Linked DNA regions of Homo sapiens: regions 1, 2, 3, 5 and 6 are each linked to region 4. The links are contacts of gene promoters, found by promoter capture Hi-C in human tissues and cell types (Jung and others, 2019). All regions are on one chromosome and are shown on one strand. The core of a region is centred on a gene start or on the middle of the fragment in contact, and the rest is flanking DNA. Distances in the headings are between cores, read along the strand shown. Region 1 overlaps SERHL2 (serine hydrolase like 2). Region 2 has its middle 10 kb from the start of LINC01315. Region 3 has its middle 21 kb from the start of RRP7A. Region 4 holds the start of SMDT1 (single-pass membrane protein with aspartate rich tail 1). Region 5 holds the start of RRP7A (ribosomal RNA processing 7 homolog A). Region 6 overlaps MEI1 (meiotic double-stranded break formation protein 1).

Evidence for each region. Contacts are between HindIII fragments. The study calls those that stand out against the background at their distance.
Region 1: a contact is called between a fragment that was not itself captured here and the fragment with the promoter of SMDT1 in region 4, in 1 of the 25 tissues and cell types used here (lymphoblastoid cells).
Region 2: a fragment that was not itself captured here is called in contact with the fragment with the promoter of SMDT1 in region 4 in 1 of the 25 tissues and cell types used here (spleen).
Region 3: a fragment that was not itself captured here is called in contact with the fragment with the promoter of SMDT1 in region 4 in 4 of the 25 tissues and cell types used here (bladder, dorsolateral prefrontal cortex, stomach and 1 more).
Region 5: the fragment with the promoter of RRP7A here is called in contact with the fragment with the promoter of SMDT1 in region 4 in 3 of the 25 tissues and cell types used here (dorsolateral prefrontal cortex, lymphoblastoid cells and spleen).
Region 6: a contact is called between a fragment that was not itself captured here and the fragment with the promoter of SMDT1 in region 4, in 1 of the 25 tissues and cell types used here (pancreas).

The regions. Positions count from the first base shown.
Region 1 is chr22:42,565,638-42,568,452 of GRCh38, forward strand. It overlaps SERHL2 (serine hydrolase like 2), which reads left to right. Exons shown (of 12, transcript NM_014509.5): 9 at 667-701. Among named protein-coding and RNA genes, the nearest start is that of SERHL2, 13 kb to the left of the region's middle. The HindIII fragment of the contact is 5,729 bases long and covers 1-2,815 here.
Region 2 is chr22:42,357,282-42,360,173 of GRCh38, forward strand. No RefSeq gene overlaps it. Among named protein-coding and RNA genes, the nearest start is that of LINC01315, 10 kb to the right of the region's middle. The HindIII fragment of the contact is 3,994 bases long and covers 1-2,892 here.
Region 3 is chr22:42,497,075-42,500,298 of GRCh38, forward strand. No RefSeq gene overlaps it. Among named protein-coding and RNA genes, the nearest start is that of RRP7A, 21 kb to the right of the region's middle. RefSeq lists enhancers at 1,605-2,125, 2,211-2,712 and silencers at 1,709-2,003, 2,913-3,224. The HindIII fragment of the contact is 5,441 bases long and covers 1-3,224 here.
Region 4 is chr22:42,078,322-42,081,439 of GRCh38, forward strand. SMDT1 (single-pass membrane protein with aspartate rich tail 1) reads left to right here and starts at 1,379. Exons shown (of 3, transcript NM_033318.5): 1 at 1,379-1,633. The coding sequence starts at 1,448. It overlaps PHETA2 (PH domain containing endocytic trafficking adaptor 2), which reads left to right. Exons shown (of 3, transcript NM_001002034.3): 3 at 1-1,117. RefSeq lists a silencer at 804-1,098 and an enhancer at 1,124-1,896. The HindIII fragment of the contact is 9,212 bases long and covers 218-3,118 here.
Region 5 is chr22:42,518,546-42,521,555 of GRCh38, forward strand. It overlaps RRP7A (ribosomal RNA processing 7 homolog A), which reads right to left and starts at 1,251. Exons shown (of 7, transcript NM_015703.5): 1 at 1,169-1,251. The coding sequence starts at 1,241. It overlaps LOC124900479 (a long non-coding RNA gene), which reads left to right. Exons shown (of 3, transcript XR_007068117.1): 1 at 1-808. RefSeq lists silencers at 1,003-1,132, 1,143-1,312, 1,333-1,392 and enhancers at 1,573-1,632, 2,158-2,452. The HindIII fragment of the contact is 27,172 bases long and covers 1-3,010 here.
Region 6 is chr22:41,787,335-41,790,372 of GRCh38, forward strand. All of the region lies in intron 26 of MEI1 (meiotic double-stranded break formation protein 1), which reads left to right. Among named protein-coding and RNA genes, the nearest start is that of CCDC134, 12 kb to the right of the region's middle. The HindIII fragment of the contact is 8,169 bases long and covers 1-3,038 here.

The sequences.
Region 1 (2,815 bases), core at 64-2,563, 490 kb after region 4:
AGTTTTTTTGTGTAGAGATGGGGTCCTGCTCCATTGCCCACGCTGGTCTCAAGTGATCCTCCCACTTCGGCCTCCCAAAGTGCTGGAATTACAGGTGCCTGACCTCCTGCTATTCTTACCTGTGTAATTTTTCCACGTGAACTTGAGAATCAGGTGGTTTAGGCCCCCCACCAAGAAAATCTTGTTGGTATATCATATATGTATGGTTTTTTAGTGGTTTTTGTTTGATTTTTTGAGACAGAGTCTTGCTCTGTCGCCTAGGCTGGAGTGCAGTGGCACGATCTCAGCTCACCACAACCAGTGACACCATTGGTACTTATTTGCTTCTTCCTAGTGACTAAAGGAATGAATGAGTTTCTCAGAGACTAGAGCTCCACCGTCCACGAGGCTATTAGCCTAAGCTCCCGCCCTCATTCTGCACCGGCCCTTTGGGGTGGCCGGTGAGGGCCCATGTGGGCTGACAGGTCTGTGGCCAGGTGGCTGTGGTCTAGCCCTGCTCCAGCTGGACCCCAGGACAGGGAGTCCTGGGCAGCTGAGGACGTCGGGGGCAGGTGGGAGAAATGGGCCCTGGCTGCAAAGGCCTGGAGGGTTCCAGCAAAGTCACGGAGCGTCCCCTGACCCTGATGGACAGCATTGACGCTGCTGTCTTTGTGCTTCCGCCTCCAGGTCTGGTTCTGAACAGAGACCAGAGGCTCGCCTGGGTGAGTACCACTGCCTCCGGGTCCCCCGCCAAGGTTTGCCTGTTAGCGTCTTTGTCGTTTTTGAAAATTACAGGCCAGGCGTGGTGGCTCACGCCTGTAATCCCAGCTACTCAGGAGGCTGAGGCAGGACAATCGCTTGAATGGGAGGCAGAGGTTGCATTGAGCCGAGATAGCACCACTGCACTGCAGCCTGGGCGACAGAGCGAGACTCCATCTCAAGAAAAAAAAAACAAAAGAAATTATATAGCTAACATAATACTTAATGATTGTCAATTTAACCGTTTGTAAGTATGCACTTCAGTGGCATTAAATACAGTCGATGGAGGTGAGGAGAGGAGGGAGACATCCCAGGCACTGGCTGCTGCACAGGGAAAAGCTCGAAGTCAGCTCGGTGCATCTGTTGAGAGGGGGATTCCTGATAGAGGCTGTGAAGATTAAAGAGGGGAGGGGCAGGATGACAAAGGTTCTCAAAAAACAGCGTCCCATCTGGAGGCCTGTGTCACTGGAGCACTTGTATTAATAGAAACTTGGCCATCTCTGCCAGTGAGGGGCTGTAGGACCTTGGGCAAGGTGCTTACCCTCTCTGAGCCTTGGTTGTCTCACGTGCAAAAAGAAAGTGCTTTCATTCGCTCAGCTGGTTTATGAGCAGCTTGGCTAGGGGAGCCAAGCCCTGGGCCTGCCTTTGAAGGGTTGTTGTCGAGACTAGGTGAGGTCATGTGTGTTGAGTGGCCTCGCACAGTGCTGTCGCTTCAGGTGCTCATGGCCTGTGCTATTTTGTGATTGTTAAAATATGGTAGAACATTGGACACATGTGAGACACTGTCATTAGAGGTGGGGACGCTCTAACTGCAGGGAGACCGCTGAGAGCTGCTGCCCAGGCCCAGGCCAAGAGATGAGGCTTGGACCAGGGCGTCAGCCAATGGTCTGGGAATGTTAACGTGTTTGTCTTTGATCCGTGTGGGATTTGTTCTTGAGCATGGTGTCAGATAGTGATTCATTTTCTTTTCTTTTTTTCTTTTTTGTGTTTTAAAAGTTCGATTTTTCGGCCGGGCGCGGTGGCTCACGCCTGTAGTCCCAGCACTTTGGGAGGCCGAGGCGGGTGGATCACAAGGTCAGGAGATCGAGACCATCCTGGCTAACAAGGTGAAACCCCGTCTCTACTAAAAATGCAAAAAATTAGCCGGGCGCGGTGGCAGGCGCCTGTAGTCCCAGCTACTCGGGAGGCTGAGGCAGGAGAATGGCGTGAACCCGGGAAGCAGAGCTTGCAGTGAGCCGAGATTGCGCCACTGCAGTTCGCAGTCCGGCCTGGGCGACAGAGCGAGACTCCATGTCAAAAAAAAAATAAATAAATAAAAAAAATAAAAGTTCGATTTTTCTTTAATTTTATTATTATTATTATTATTATTATTGATACAGAGTCTCGCTCTTGTTGCAAAGGCTGGAGTGCAATGGCACTATCTCAGCTCACGGCAACCTTTGCCTCCCAGGTTCGAGTGATTCTCCTGTCTCAGCCCCCAAGTAGCTGGGATTACAGGCACCCACCACCACACCTGGCTAATTTTTGTGTTTTTAGTGGAGATGGGGTTTCACCATGTTGTCCAGGCTGGTCTCGAACTCCTGACCTCAGGTGATCTGCCTGCCTCGACCTCCCAAAGTGCTGGGATTACAGGCATGAGCCACAGTGTTCGGTCTATTTGAATTGTAGAGACAGGGTCTCCCTCTGTCACCCGGACTGGAGTGCCATGGCTCAATTATGGCTCACACAGCTTCAACCTCCTGGGCTGAAGTGATCTTCCCACCTCAGCCTCCGGAGTGGCTAGGACTACAGGTGTGCGCTACCACACCCAGCTAAATTTTTTACTTTTGTAGAGACAGGGTCTTGCCATGTTGCCCAGGCTGGTCTTGAATGCCTGGGCTCAAGCTATCCTCCCGCCTCAGTTTCCCAAAGTACTGGGATTACAGGTGTGAGCCACTGCAGCCAGCCATTGTAATTGTTTTTCTAGATGAACAATACCAGCTGTTGGGTGGTCCTCCCTACCCACTAAGGCTCACTCACTGGTGGTTTGTCCCTTGTGTGTGCTGACCTTCGTGGTAGGAATTTATTGCCAGATCCT
Region 2 (2,892 bases), core at 46-2,545, 280 kb after region 4:
TATCCTGTGCTCTAGGCTCAGTAGTGGGTGACAGAGCAGGATTTGAAAACAGGCCTATGGGACTCCCAGACATGTGCCTTTCCCCATGCAGTGCCCTGCCTCACAGAGAGAGAGAGCGACTCACACCTGGCGAGACCGAGGGTTGAGTCTGCCAGGAAGAGCATGGTGAGCAGGGGGAACAGAATGTGGCAACATGTGAGGGCAGACTCAGGACTGTGCCTGGGTCTGTCTTCCTGCCCAGCCTGGGGTCCACCTCTCACACTCCAGGGCTCCAAAGCCAGTGCTCCTTCCCCTGGCCTGCCTGGGGGATGGCAAGATTTAGATAGAGAATGACTTACTGACTTCAGAGTCCCACAGCCCTGGGTTAGAGCCCCTGGCCCTCATATCACTCTGGCCAAGTTGCTTCCACTCCCTGAACCTTGGCTTTCTCTCCTGTGAATGAGACTGTACCTGAAGAATGATTAAGGAAAGTCCCTGGCACAGAGTAGGTGCCTGGCAAATACCAACGGACAGGAGCCTCGGGACAGATCCCGTTCTGTCCTGGCATGGTGCCGTTTCCTAGCTAGGGAGCCAGCAGGCTCTGCAGGGCAGGGAGGCTCTGCGCTTAGCTAGGTGGTGTTGCAATGAGAGCAGCAAGGTTTCTGAGTGAGCCCTGCCCCTCCTGGGGCCAGTATCGGTGGGGGCTAGAGCCCTGCTCTCCAGTAACTCACTGTAGCCCTCCCAGTTACTCAAGGAGCTGGCCACGGCCCAGCCCAGCGGACAGAGGAGGCAGGTGTCTGGGGCTGGTTGACCCTCAGCCTGGACACCACCCTCCACACACAAGGAGGCAGTGGTGGTCCATGGGGCTGCTCTTCCTAGGCAGGGCTGTTGGAGGTGGCCCCTTCCCACTCTGCTCTGAGAGCCTGACTATTAGAGGGGACACTCAGAGGCCCAGGAGGTGACAATGGCACTTACTGGGCACTCTTTGGGCCAGAAAGAGGCTGGGTGCTTTACAGAGCCTCTGACAGATGGGTATTAATATCCGCATTTTGGCCTGGCGTGGTGGCTCACGCCTGTAATCTCAGCACTTTGGGAGGCCGAGGTGGGCAGATCAATTGAGGTCAGGAGTTTGAGACCAGCCTGGCGAACATGGTGAAACCCCGTCTCTACTAAAAATACAAAAATTAGCTGGGTGCAGTGGCGGGTGCCTGTAATCCTAGCTACTTGGGAGGCTGAGGCAGGAGAGTCGCTTGAAACTGTGAGGCAGAGGTTGCAGTGAGCTGAGATTGCGCCACTGCCCTCCAGCCTGGGCGACAGAGTGAGAGTTTGTCTCAAAAAACAAACAAACAAAACAAAACAAAAAAAATTAGGTGGGTATGGTGGTGGGCGCCTGTAATCCCAGCTACTCAGGAGACTGAGGCAGGAGAATCACTTGATCCCCGGAGGTGGAGTTTGCAGTGAGCCGAGATCACACCACTGCACCCCAGCCTGGGGAACACAGTGAGACTCCGTTTCAAAAAAAAAAATTAGAATTAAAAAAAAATAAGAAAAAAAAAATCCCCATTTCACAGATAAGGAAACTGAGGCTTGGATAGGTCAAAGATACCCGGACTCCTTAGTCCAACAGCACCTCTGACCTTAATCTCCCCTCATCCCACACGCAGAGGTTGTTTGAATTCTAGTGATGGGAAGATCACTCCTGCCAAGACCCCACCTTTGGGCATGCGTGAAAGAAAACTCTTCTCAGTGGAGACTGAATTGGCCTCCTGAAACTCCCACCCTAGGGCTGAGCACTCTGTCCCCAAAACAGTCTTCAGAGCTTGAGCACAGCAGGACACCCCAGTAAGCCAGTATGCCTCCCCTGGGTAGCTCCTTTCTGAGCCTTAGTTCCTCCAGCTGTAAAACAGGGTTACAACGGTCCCTTACTCAAGGGATGGTTGTGAGGCTTTAGGGTGTTAATAAACCTAGAATATTCCAGGAGCATCCCGAGTCCTCAGAGAAGCTGCGGCCAAGAGGAGAGGCTCAGAGGGCCTTCCAGGGACCCAACTCACCTTCCCCAAAGGAGGAATTGGCCGTGATCAGGGCAGCCCAGGGGAGGGATGGAGTGGGGACCACGGCTCGGGAGCCCGTGGCGAGCAGGCATTTCACCTGCACTCTACTGCCTCTTCCCAGACCTGGCCCTCCCAGAGGATGTGGCTCAGTCTTGCTAAAGGACAGCAGGAATCAGGGCCAGGCAGGGCTGGGTTCAAGTCCTTTGTCTGCCATTTACCAGCCACGTGTTTGGTGTAGCTGTTGGTTACCTCGCTGCTCTCAGCCTGGCGTCTGCAGCTTGGAGGAAGGCCCTGTCTCCCGGGGCTGTGGTGTCCAACAGTATGTGAGGCCCAAAGCAGAGTGGCCCCTCAAGTGCAGAGCCAAGCACACCCCAGGCCTGGGCCCCGCTGGGGACAGCCAGGCCACCCCATCATGGTCCTCCCTGCACTGAGGGAGGGACTGGAGAAGTGCAGCTCAGGAGAAGGACCCCACGTCTTGGCACATTCTGTTTCCCCTGCTCACCATGCTGTTCCTGGCAGACTTCTCTTCCCCTGGGGCCTTCCAGGCTTAAGTCTCTCCCTCTTTGTGAGGCAGGACACTGCAGCGGGGAAGCATGTACGTGATCAGGAGTACACTGATGGGGCAACTGAGGCCCAGAGAGAGGGAGCGATGTGTGCAGGATCACGCAGCTGGAGGATGAGAGCTAAGATTCCACCCCAGGCCTCTGCTGCTCCTCCTGGCACTTAAGCCTTCCCCAATCCATCCCCACACACATGCCCAGCACATCCCCACCTCGGGGCCTTTGCCCACTCCATAATCCCGATCTGGGGTTACGGTGCCCTCTCTCTGCCCAGCTGGATCTTACTGACCTTTAAGGCCCCT
Region 3 (3,224 bases), core at 67-2,566, 420 kb after region 4:
GCCACTGCACTCTAGCCTGGGCAACAAGAGTGAAACTCTGTCTTAAAAAAAAAAAAAAAAAAAAAAAAGGGCCGGGCGCAGTGGCTTGCGCCTGCAATCCCAGCACTTTAGGAGACCAAGGCGGGCTGATCACCTAAGGTCGGGAGTTCGAGATCAGCCTGGCTAACATGGTGAAACCTCGTCTCTACTAAATATACAAAATTAGCTGGACGTGGTGGCGCATGCCTGTCATTCCAAGCTACTCGGGAGGCTGAGGCAGGAGAATCGCTTGAACCCAGGAGGCAGAGTTTGCAGTGAGCCAGGATTGCACCACTGCCTGGCAACAGTATGAGGCTCCATCTCAAAAAAAAAGAAAAAAATCTGCTAAATTTGTAGTAACTTGTTGCACAGCATAGAAAATTAATATAGTCTCCCTAAATATTATAGTTAGTACTGCCTGCTTTTAAGAGTCTCTTTCAATCTATAGATTCCCCCTGCATCTCTTTATTCTCTCTCAATTTTTTATTGAAAAATTTGGGATGGTTAATTTGTATCGCTTCCCATAGTCTGGATTTTGCTGGTTACATTCCTGTGGTATAGGTTAACAGGTTTCATTTTTTCCTCCTGTAAATTGATCATTGCATCTAGAGTGTTAATCAGATTAAGCTTTTTATGTTTTTGTTAAGACTCTTTCTAAGTACACAGCTACAAGGTGTTTGTGTGTGTGTGTATATGTATATGTGAATTTGTGTATTTTTTTTAAGATAAGATGCCTCATGAAACATACTGATACTTCTGATTCAAATTCAGGAGACAAGATGTTACTCATTCTCTTCTATTTCACATCTGTAACTCCTTTTCCCTACACCAAGAATTCAGTTCTCTGGCCACTGGGGATGATAGAATTTGAATATCACATAATTACTAATTGCTTTGTCCCATGTTCGAAAACATTCTTAGAATAAAAATATAACATTACCAGTCCATATGATCACTAAAAACAGTTCCAAAACATTTTATTTTACTTTAGTATTATTATTACTTTTTTTTTTCTTTGAGACGGAGTCTTGCTCTGTCACCCAGGCTGGAGTGCAATGGTGTGATCTCAGCTCACTGCAACCTCTACCTCCTGGGTTCAAGTGATTCTCCTGCCCCAGCCTCCCAAGTAACTGGGATTACAGGCGCCCACCACCACACCTGGCTAATTTTTGTATTTTAGTAGAGATGAAGTATTGCAGGATCTGGCCAGCAGCCTGCAATGCAACGGGGCTCTCTCTTTGTTCCCAAGCGGATTGGCAGGTTGAGAAATAATAGACACACACAAGATAGTGAAAGCTGGGTCCAGGGGGGTCACTGCCTTCTGGTCCCTCAGTGCCAACAATGCACGGGATATACCAGCATTTATTATTAAGTTTAGTGAGGTCGGGGGTAGGTTAGTGAGGGATTTAGGGTCATTTGATTATGAGGTGAGATGGTCACATGGGGATGAAGCAATTCTTTAACATAACATTTGTATGTAGAAGTACAGTACATTTGTATGTAGAAGTATAGTATACAGAGATAAGAATTTACAACATAGTGTGTGCGTCAGTAATTTCTAACAGAGCCTTAAAACAGAAACACAGTCTTTCCATAACCTATGATTAGCAAGATTTTAATCAGTAGTAAAAACTGCAACAAAAGCTGGTTACAAACAATCCATGGAAACAGGAAGCTAGACAACCGGTTAGACCAGAAATTCTCAGAAGGGAGTATGCCTTAACCCTAAAGAGGCCTAGAAGAGCCACGGCAAGATGAGGGCGTTTATAGCCCTATCTTATCCATATGGACAGGCACCCCCTATGCGTCCATTTATAGGCTCTCCACAAGGGTCGCATTCCATTCCCAGAGCTATGAACATCTGCTTTGCTGGGATACGAATCTTGGTGATGTGAAACTTCCCTGACTGCAAGTCCATTCATAGGCTCTCTGCAGGGGGAAGCACATCACGTGCTATTGGCTCATTCTGGCAGTCCAACCTGGCATTGTCTTTACACAATCCTGCATGCAATTTTGTATTTACAATAATCAGGAGCATTTCATCTTTTATTCCATAGCAATAGTTTCAGGGGGTCTCCCTACAATGAAGTTGCGCCACATCGGCCAGGCTGGTCTCGAACTCCTGACCTCAAGCCACCCACCTGCCTTGGCCTCCCAAAGTGCTGAGACTACAAGCCTGAGCCACCGTCCCTGGCCAAAAAACAAAAAACAAAACACACACACACACACACACACACACACACACACACACTTTAAAGATATGCCCACACCATTTTCTCCCCCTATTTATAGCTGTACTTTGTCTATGTTGTTGGCGAATGTAACCATTACACTCCATCCTCTCCTTTTTACTCCTCATCTTCTCTTGGTTCTCCATGTAAATATATCTTTAATGTTCACACCAGGCTAATGTCAATGTCTTTTTAGTCTCGTTGGTTGTCTGAAGCTTATTTTCTAGTAATTCCTCAGGAAAGGCTTTGGGAACAATATTCTCTGGGTTCCTGCACATTGGTGAGAATCTGCTATTTTTTTTTTCTTTTTAACTCACTCTGTCACCCAGGCTGGAGTGCACTGCCGCGATCTGGGCCCACTGCAACCTCCATCCCCCAAGTTCGAGCGATTCTCCTGCCTCAGCCTCCTGAGTAGCTGAAATTGCAAGCGTGCACCACCACGCCCAGCTGTTTTTCTATTTTCAGTAGAGACGCAGTTTAGCCATTTTGACCAGGCTGGTCTTGAACTCCTGACCTCAAGTGATCTGCCTGCTTTGGCCTTCCAAAGTGTTGGAATTACAGGCGTGAGCCACTGCGTCCGGCCTGACAATCTGCTATTTTTATACTTAAAAGTTAGTTTGACCAGGCCGGGTTGGGTGGCTCACACCTGTAATCCCAGCATTTTGGGAGGCCGAGGCGGGCTCACCACCGGATGTTGAGAGTTCGAGACCAGCCTGACCAACATGGAGAAACCCTGTCTCTACTAAAAATACAAAATTAGTCGGGCGTGGTCGCGCGTGACTATAATTACAGGACTGCCCAGTGGTCGGGACCCTGCTAGGTTCCAGCCAGTGGGAGCGGATGGGGTAGTGGGAAGGCGGGGCCTGGCGGGTGAGGGCGGGGCCTGGCAGGTGGGGCGGAGGCCTTCCGGGGGTGGAGCCGGGGCCTTCCTGGGGTGGAGCCAGCGGCCCTGGGCACAGGGCCCGCCGGGGCTCT
Region 4 (3,118 bases), core at 129-2,628:
CTGACTGCACTGGCCTGACTGCCCCCTCCCAGGGGATGTTAATGAAATGAAGGAAGTGGGGAATGTCACCCGAGACTGTCACAGGCTTGCCATACCTTTGGCCTACACACCGGGCTCTAGAGCCATAATTTCCAACCTGGGGAGTCTCCTGTGCACTTAAATCCGAGGTAGGCTGCAGTATCGGCTTGAAGCTCTGACACTGTCAGAGAAAGTGGATTTATTGTGTCATAGGAGTTTCTGGGACCCAGCTCTTCCTGAGAGGGGTGGGAAGATTGGGGATGGGATCCTCACTCAGCAGTCTGGGTAGGGCCCTTTGAGGCAGAGGGTCTTCGGCCAGTGAAGAGAGATTTATTCTGCTCAGAGTGCTGGGGTCCCATCCTTTCTCCCTGGCTGCCCTGTTAACAGATGGTGCTGGACCTTGCCCCGGAAGGGGCTTGTAGCTTTTTTACGTCAACGAAATGCCCTCCTGTACTCTGTCTTCAGCAGCCAACTCCTGGAGCTGCCAAGTGAGGGGTTAAAGAAGAGGTGGGGAGGCAGTGTGGCTCCCTGGGAAAAGTCTGTTGCTTTGGTTCTCAGTCCTGGGTATTCTAGGAGCTTGGACACGGGATTGCGTTTCCTGTGCTAAAATTCTCTCTCCTGGCTGGGCTCCGGTAAACTGAAGCTGCTCGAGAAATCACCTGGGAACTCTCATAGCCGTTTGTCACCCAGGGTGTACTTGCCAGGACCTCTCCTTGCTACTCTTCCCAAAGTCGGGAGGCAAAGCGGCTGGGTCACCAGAGCCTGACCATACTGACGCTCCAGGGGGAAGACGCAGAGGCCGGGAAGAGACACCCCCTCCCAAACACATAAAACTTGCCCCTTCCTAGCCTCGGCTCCCCTCACTGGGGCCTTGGGCAGGACCGACCCGCATCCAACTAGGCCTAAGGGGTAGGCTCTGAGCCTCTTACCCCTAAGAGGCGGAGATGCGCCCAAGGCGGGCGCCCGGCCTGTTCCCCAGCCCTGCCTGGAAGCCCCGCAGCCACTGCATTTTGTTTAAACACAGATAGCACGGGCCTTTCTCTTATTGCTACAGTGTTTTGTACACGGTTAAAACACTAGTAAAGCTTTTTCGTTATTACTCCTTCCGCTCCCTGGGTTTATTTCCACAACCGGCCGCTGAGGCCTGTTCTGACGGCCGGGCGGACCCAAGACCGCGGCCACGCCCAGCAGGACGCGGACTGAGGGAGCCGGGGCTGCGCCGCCACTCTCGTGACGCCACCATGCCGGCCAGTGACAAACACCTCCCTCCCGCCGCCCCAGGAGCCGCCGGCACTGCGCGAGTGGGAGGGCTGGGCTTCTCGTGTACTCCTCAAACTCTCGCGAGGCTTCGGGCGGCTTTCTTCCCGAGGGCGGCACGAGGGCTGGGCGGTGGGGTGCGGGTGCCCGGGTGAGGGGCGGAGCTGGGGGCATGGCGTCCGGAGCGGCTCGCTGGCTAGTATTGGCACCCGTCAGGTCCGGGGCTCTCCGGAGCGGGCCTAGCTTGAGGAAAGATGGCGATGTCTCCGCCGCATGGAGCGGCTCAGGCCGGAGCCTGGTACCGTCGAGGTCAGTCATCGTTACCCGCAGCGGCGCCATTTTGCCCAAACCGGTGAAAGTGAGTGTCCTCCTGGAGACGGGGCGAAGGGGCTGAGGCCAATCATTGTGGGGAGTGCGTGAGGGCGGCGCTGATTGATAGGAGCCAAGGCCAATCATAACGATTACCGTAGACTGGAAGGCGGACCAAGAATACGCTAATGAGTTGCTAATTTTGACAGGTGTGTAGAAAATGGTAGGTAGACAGAAGATGGGGGGCAAACGCTGAGGAAGTTGGCCTTTTACATTAGCTTGTCCTGAGAGGTGCGGTGCTCTGCTCCTCTGGAGTCAGAAGACTAGGCCGTGTGCTTCTAGCTTAGAGCAGTCCTGTAATCTCTGCCCTGCCTGTCTCCTAGTTTATGGGATGAAATATGAATTTTGAAAGGACTCTGTAAATAAAGGGTACGTGGGACGGGCCTCATCTTTTTATTAGTTGTCACCTAATATTTAATTCATGTGATTTACAGTCCTGATAGATGTGCAGGGAATTATTACAATCACGGGTTTTCAAATGAAGAATCGGGCTAGAGCGGTGAAGCTCGTATCCAAGGCCAGCGCTGAGGACGCAGCATCCGGGTTTCTTCCTGGTACCGTCCCCACCAGGTCCTGTCTTTTTCCAACACTGAACGCTATCACATGCTTGAGTTTTTCTAGGGAAAACGGAAACAGTCCCTTATATCAAGCGAAAGTTTGCTTTACGACTGCAGGGCTGTGTGGTGTGGGAGTTAAAAAAACAAATTCTCTTAAAGCTAGTCTAGCCTATGCTAACTCACACAATTGACTGTAGGTCCATGTTGGGAAAGACCTGCCTTATCAAAACAGTTGAAAAAAAAATTTTTTTAATTCTAGGAATACGAGAGAAATGTTGCTGAGATTTTACTGACATTCTCCCAATCCATCTAAAGTCTTTGAGTGTAAATACATGCCCACTTTCAAATACATCTGTTTCTAAAATTTTTAAATCAAATTTCTCAGGCATCAGGGAACCTGTTACTTAGTGAACTGTGTAGAATATCCCTTCACTGTACATCTTTCTGTCATCGGTTTTCGTGTATTTCGTGTTCAGGCAGAGCTCACCGTAGTCTGGCCCTCCTAGTACTGGTGCACCCGATTGCCTGTAGGGATTTAAAGTAATTAGCAGGCTGTGTCCTAACTTTAGATGTCTAGGGTGCCTTAGACTTTTCTTTCCAGTGGACTTTTCGTCCATTTTGATGGCCATAACAGTCACCTTATCTCCTTTTTTTTTTTTTTGAGACGGAGTCTCACTCTGTCACCCAGGCTGGAGTACAGTGGCACAATCTTGGCTCACTGCAGCCTCCGCCTCCCGGGTTCAAGTGATTCTTCTGCCTCAGCCTTCTGAGTAGCTGGGACTACAGGCATGTACCACCACACCCGGCTAATTTTTTGTATTTTTAGTAGAGACGGGGTTTCACTATGTTAGCCAGGCTGATTTCGAACTTCTGACCTCGTGATCCGCCCGCCTCAGCCTCCCAAAGTGCTGGGATTA
Region 5 (3,010 bases), core at 1-2,500, 440 kb after region 4:
GGTACACCAGGGCCTCACACATGCTGGCCTCTCTACCTGGCGTGTCACCCTCTTCCCTCCCGCTCACCTCAGGTTTAGCTCAAACCTCGCTTCCTCAGGAGAGCCTTAGCATCACCTCCGCCCCTCCTGCCAGCTCAGATCCCACTGCCTGTGCCTTCACAGCTTCTCTTAACAGTCTGGAGGCTATATTGATGAGATTCTTTGGTTAATCGCTGGCACACCCATGACTGTAATCCTCATAAAGCTAGGAACTGCTTCTATTTTTCTCACACCTCCGTCACAGTACCGGTTGGCGTAGAGCTGCGGTCCCTGAACTCAGGAAGCTCAGTTGCAATAACGGAGAAGACAATTAACAAGCATACAGCAAACTTGTATCAATTGTGAAAGAAACATTACAGGGTGATGGGGTGGCAGAGGTCTTCTTTCCATAGGCCATCACGGATGGCCTCTTTGAGGAAGCAACATTAAAGCTCAGGCCAGAACGCCACTGTGCAACAAACCGGCACAGCACGTGCAAAAACCCAGAGGGGGGAAAAAGCATGTTCCCTCAGAGGAACAGAAAGAGCTTTAGGTCGGCACCAGCCAGACCACGTGGCCCACACAGGTTAAGAAGTCTGGTTTTTGTTTTAGAAGCTACCTGATAAAGCCACTGGAGGGAATGCAGTAGGTGTGGCGCCTATCGTGGGCGCGGCAGACATGATCGAATCTAAATGTCCTTAAAAGAACATTCTGGCACGTGGGTGGAGAACAGAAGCAGGGGCAAGAGGAGAAGGAGGGCAACCGAGTAGGAGGGCCTATAACAGCCCAGGTAAGAGCTGATGGGGGATGGACTAGGAGCAGAGGCGATGAGAAGGGGATGGGCTCACCTGGACGAGCGGGTGTGGACGGAAATGGGTTTGTCCTGGGTGAGAGTGTGGACAGAGGCGGGCTCACCCAAGGGAAGCGTGGACCAAGTTGGGCTCGCCCCGGGAGAGTGAGCAGGCAGAAGGGCGCCGCCTGGGTCCTCGGGACCCCGGAGCCTCAAGACCTGCGGAGCCTGGGGCCACGGGCCACCGGGGCTCACACCCAACCGTGCGGCCGCTCCTGGGGACCCCCGGCCGTCGCCAACCCCCAAACACCTCCCGGCGATGCCTGACCGCCCCCGGTCTCGCGTCCCGGAGCCCCTCACCTGCGTAGCCCAGTGGGCTGGGGATACGGTCCTCCGGGTCCCGCGCGGCGCACTTCCTCCTGCGCGCCACCATCTTGCCACCCGGGAGCGCGGGGGCCGCCGGGAGTTGCGGTTCGGCGCCGGCGCGAGCGCGTTTTCGTGGCGCCTGCCCCGCCCCCTCACTCCAAGCCCGCCTCCCCGGCCCCGCCCGCCATGGCCCAACCTTCATCCGCTCAGAGATAAATCAGCGCGCGAAAGTGGGAGCGAATGTCAGAGTTGACCCCGGCCAGTCACGAGTGCGAACTCAGCTTTCCACTCATGCATTCACACGTTGAATAGGCAGTGTGAGAGAAATCCAGGATGGCTGCTAGGTTTTCAGTCTGAGCAACTAAGAGGATGGTGTTGCCATTGACTGAGATGGGAAGACTGCAGGAGAGGGGCCTGCTTGGGGGTGAAAATGGAGTAGATCAGTTCTCTGTGAGCCGTGGTGAGATGCCCATTAGGCCACTCAGGGGACATGTCAGGTGGGCACTTAGATATGAGACTGAACAGACTGAACATCAGAGATGTCAGGCCTGGAGCAATACACACGGGACTGGCCATGGATAGGTTATTGACAGTTACGAGAGGAGCCGGGTGCGGTGATTCATGCCTGTAATCCCAGCAATTTGGGAGGCCGAGGGGGGCGGATCACTTGAGGTCAGGAGTTCCAGACCAGCCTGGCCAACATGGTGAAACCCCGTGTCTACTAGGTACAAAAAGTAGCCGGGCGTGGTAGTGCATGCCTGTAATTCCAGCTACTCGGGAGGCTGAGGCAGGAGAATCGCTTGAACCCAGGAGGCGGAGATTGCAGTTAGCCAAGATCGCCCCACTGCAATCCAGCCTGGGCAACAGAGCGAGACTCTGTCTCAAAAAAAAAAGAAAGAGAAAAAAAAAGAAAGTTATGAGAGGGTGTGATCGCCAAGGGAGCAAGTGTAGATAGGGGAGAAATGAAGTCCAAGGACTCCACTTTTCTGGACTCCAAAGGGCCTCTCAGACTGTGTACCCGCCAGCCCTTGATGTATCTACTATTTCTCTTTTCCCAGTGTACAGTTGCTTCTTGGAAATGCTGTCGGCCCCTTTGGGGAAAGATTAGGAGCCTACTACTGCAAATATTTGTGGTCTGGAGGGGACCCAGCCTCCCTTTCAGTCAGTGACCTCTGGTTCTGAGGCCTAGCTTAGGCCTGGAAACTGGATGAGGGGTTGGGATTTTCCATCAGCAGCTGCCATTACTGTCCTGTTCGCTCGTTTTTTGTTTTTGATCTTTCTTTGCTTAGCGCAGTCAAGCAGTGTTGGGGCTTCCGTGGCCCCTGGGAATACCGTGGTCTACTAGCATTCACCAGAGACTCCTGTGCGCCCAGGATCCCTGGCAGCCACTCTGGCCTTGCTCCTGTTCTGACAGTCACATCAACCGAACCTCTGCTCTCTGGAATCCTATCTCCTGCTGACCTTTCCGAGCCCGGCTCCAGTCCTATTTGCCCTCTTCTACCCTGGCCTCAGAGGACGGCCATGCCGATTGCCCATTGATGCCTAGACCCCCCACTAGTCAAAGCAGTCTCTGGTGAACCCTCCAGAAATACGGTCATCTGGCTTCTCAGATGTTGCATAATAAATCTGTGCCTGCACATCCCCCTCCCCGAGGCCTTTGGCTCCTTCTCAGTGCCCTGCCACCATCGTTCTGTTATCTCCCTCTCATGTATTGCTTCCACGCTTCAAGGAGCCATCTCGATGGATATCAGGACTGGCCACACAACATCACTTTTTTTTTTTTTTTTTTGAGATGGAGTCTCGCTGTGTCGCCAGGCTGGAGTGCAGTGGCGCGAT
Region 6 (3,038 bases), core at 51-2,550, 290 kb before region 4:
TACAGTGAACATTCATACACCCAACACCTAGATTCTACTAATAACATTTTATTATACTTGCTTAATCATATCTGTCCAAAATGAGCTTTTTAAAACACCCTCCTTCTTGCCAGACCAGGGGTCCACAGGCGGGAAAAACTGTGTTTGCATTATGGACACTTAGCCAGCTGGCCAGGATCTTAAGAGTTTAAGTTCATGGGAGCATAATCTTTAATACCTTAATCCTGCCCTGATGGCACAGTAGATCTTAAGCTAGTATCTTGCCTGCTAGATAAAACCTTCCTTGGGTGAGGAGGGCCAGTTAGGGAAATGCTTTCTCCCTAATGTTTCTAAAAGCGCTGATGTTCCTGTTTTAAGATTCAGAACAGGAGGTGTGGGGGGAATGATTTCCCAATACCCAGCACAGAGCTTGGCACAAAGTTGGCATCTGGGAATGTTTGTTGAATGGATGAAAACCACAGAAATTAACATTACATGATCCCAGCCATTTAGGCACTCACAGATTATAGGAAACACAAATAACTACATCTAATACCAAAATGACCTATTAGCAGTTGAGCATTCCTAATACAAAAGTCCAAAATCCGAAATGCCCAATGAGCATCTGCTTTGAGCATCATGTTGGTGCTCAAAAGTTTTGGATATGGGGATATTTCAGATTTCAAATTTTTAATTACAGATACTCAACCAGTATTTGTTTTTTTGTTTGTTTTTGAGATGGAGTCTCGCTCTGTCACCCAGGCTGGAGTGCAGTGGTGCAATCCCAGCTCACTGCAACCTCTGCCTCCTGAGTTAAGTGATTCTCCTGCCTCAGCCTCCCAAGTACCTGGGACTACAGGTACGCACCACAATGCCTGGCTAATTTTGTATTTTTAGTAGACATGAGGTTTCACCATGTTGGCCAGGCTGGTCTCGAACTCGTGACCTCAAGTGATCCACCTGCCTCGGCATCCCAAAGTGCTGGGATTACAGGCGTGCCCAGCCTCAACCTGTATTGGAAGGCTGCACAGGAGAGGTAGCATTTGAACTGGGCCTTGAGTGATGAAAAAGCCTTCTTCAAACCAATAGCCTAAACACTAGGGTGGGGTGCCAGTGAGGTTTGTGGGTTTTGTTTTGTTTTTTTTGAGACATAGTCTTGCTCTGTCACCCAGGCTGCAGTGCAGTGGTATGATCCCAGCTCACTGCAACCTCCACCTCCTGGGTTTAAGCGATTCTTCTGCCTCAGCTTCCTGAGTAGTTGGGATTACAGGTGTGTGCCACCATGCCTGGCTAATTTTTGTATTTTTAGTAGAGACAGGGTTTCACCATGTTGGCCAGGCTGGTCTCAAACTCCCAACCTTAGGTGATCTGCCCACCTCGGCCTCCCAAAGTGCTGGGATTACAGGTGTGAGCCAACGTGCCCAGCCACCAGTGAAGTATTGTATAGCACTTTCACCATTCGCCTCTCATGCCCAAGAGCCTAGGTGTCTCCCTGGCCTGTGACATTCAACTCTGCCTCTGGCAACTGTTTATTTTTATTTTTGAGATAGGGTCTTGCTGTCGCCCAAGCTAGAGTACAGTGGCATGATCATGGCTCACTGCCACCTTAACCTGCTGAGCTTAAGTGATCCTCCCATCTCAACCTCCTGAATAGCTGGGACTACGGGTATACACCACCATGCCCAGCTAATTTTAAAATACTTTTGTATTGGTAGTAAGGCCAGGCGCAGTGGCTCATGCCTGTAATCTCAGCACTTTGGGAGCCAAGACGGGCGGATCACTTGTCAGGAATTTGAGGCCAGCCTGGCCAACAGGGTGAAACCTCATCTCTACTAAAAATACAAAAAAATTAGCCGGGCGTGGTGGCGCGCACCTGTAATCCCAGCTACTTGGGAGGCCAAGGCAGGAGAATCACTTGAACCCGGGAGGTGGAGGTTGCAGTGAGCCAAGATCATGCCAGTGCACTCCAGCCTGGGTGACAGAGCAAGACTCCATCTCAAAAAATAAATAAATAAAAAATAAAATACTTTCGTAGAGATGATATCTCACTATGTTGTCCAGGCTGGTCTTGACCTCCTGGGCTCAAGCAATCCTCTGGCTTTGGCCTCACAAAGTGCTAGGATTACAGGTGTGAGTCACTGCACCTGGCCTTGTTTTAATTGTAGTAAACTATATATAACATACAATTTAGTATTTTAATCATTTTAAGTATATGGGTCAGTGGCATTAAGTACATTCACATTGTTGTGCAACTTTCACCATCATCCATCTCTAGATCTTTTCATCTTCCCAAACTGAAACTCTGTACCCATTAAACAATTCCCCAGTCCCCTCCCCCAGCCCCTGGCATCTACCATTTTACTTGCTATCTCTATGAATTTGACTACTGTAGGGACCTCATGTAAGTGGAATCCTGTATTTGTCTCTCTGGTAGTTTTTGACTGTCTGTCCTCAACAGTCCCTGGGAAGGGGAACCCAACCTGAGAAGCTCATGACTCCCCCTGTAGAAGGTGCTGGGCCTACCCTGCTTATGGGAGGGTATTGCTGAGGAGCCTGTCTTAGCCTCACAGTGACTGCCCTATAATTGCCTAGTGAACAGGACCAAGTAGGCTTTTCCTCTTTTCTCTCACTGTCACACTCTCGAGAAATTTCCTGGCCTTCTTTGTTCAGCCACAATGTCCCCTCTGTCACTGCCCAGGACCTCATGGCTATAGCTAAGCCTCCTTCATTCCCTTCAACCAGTTTGTTGTTTAAAACTAGTTTGTTTGTTTTTTTGTTTTGTTTTTTGAGACAGACTCTCATTCTGTTGTCCAGGCTGGAGTGCAGTGGCGTGATCTTGGCTCACTGCAACCTCTGCCTTCCAGTTGCAAGAGATTCTCGTGCCTCAGCCTACCAAGTAGCTGGGATTACAGGCACTTGCCACCATACCTGGCTAATTTTTTGTATGTTTAGTAGAGACAGGGTTTCGCCATGTTGGCCAGGTTGGTCTCAAAACTCCTGGCCTCAAGTGATCTGCCTGCCTTGGCATCCCAAAGTTCTGGGATTACAGGTGTGAGCCA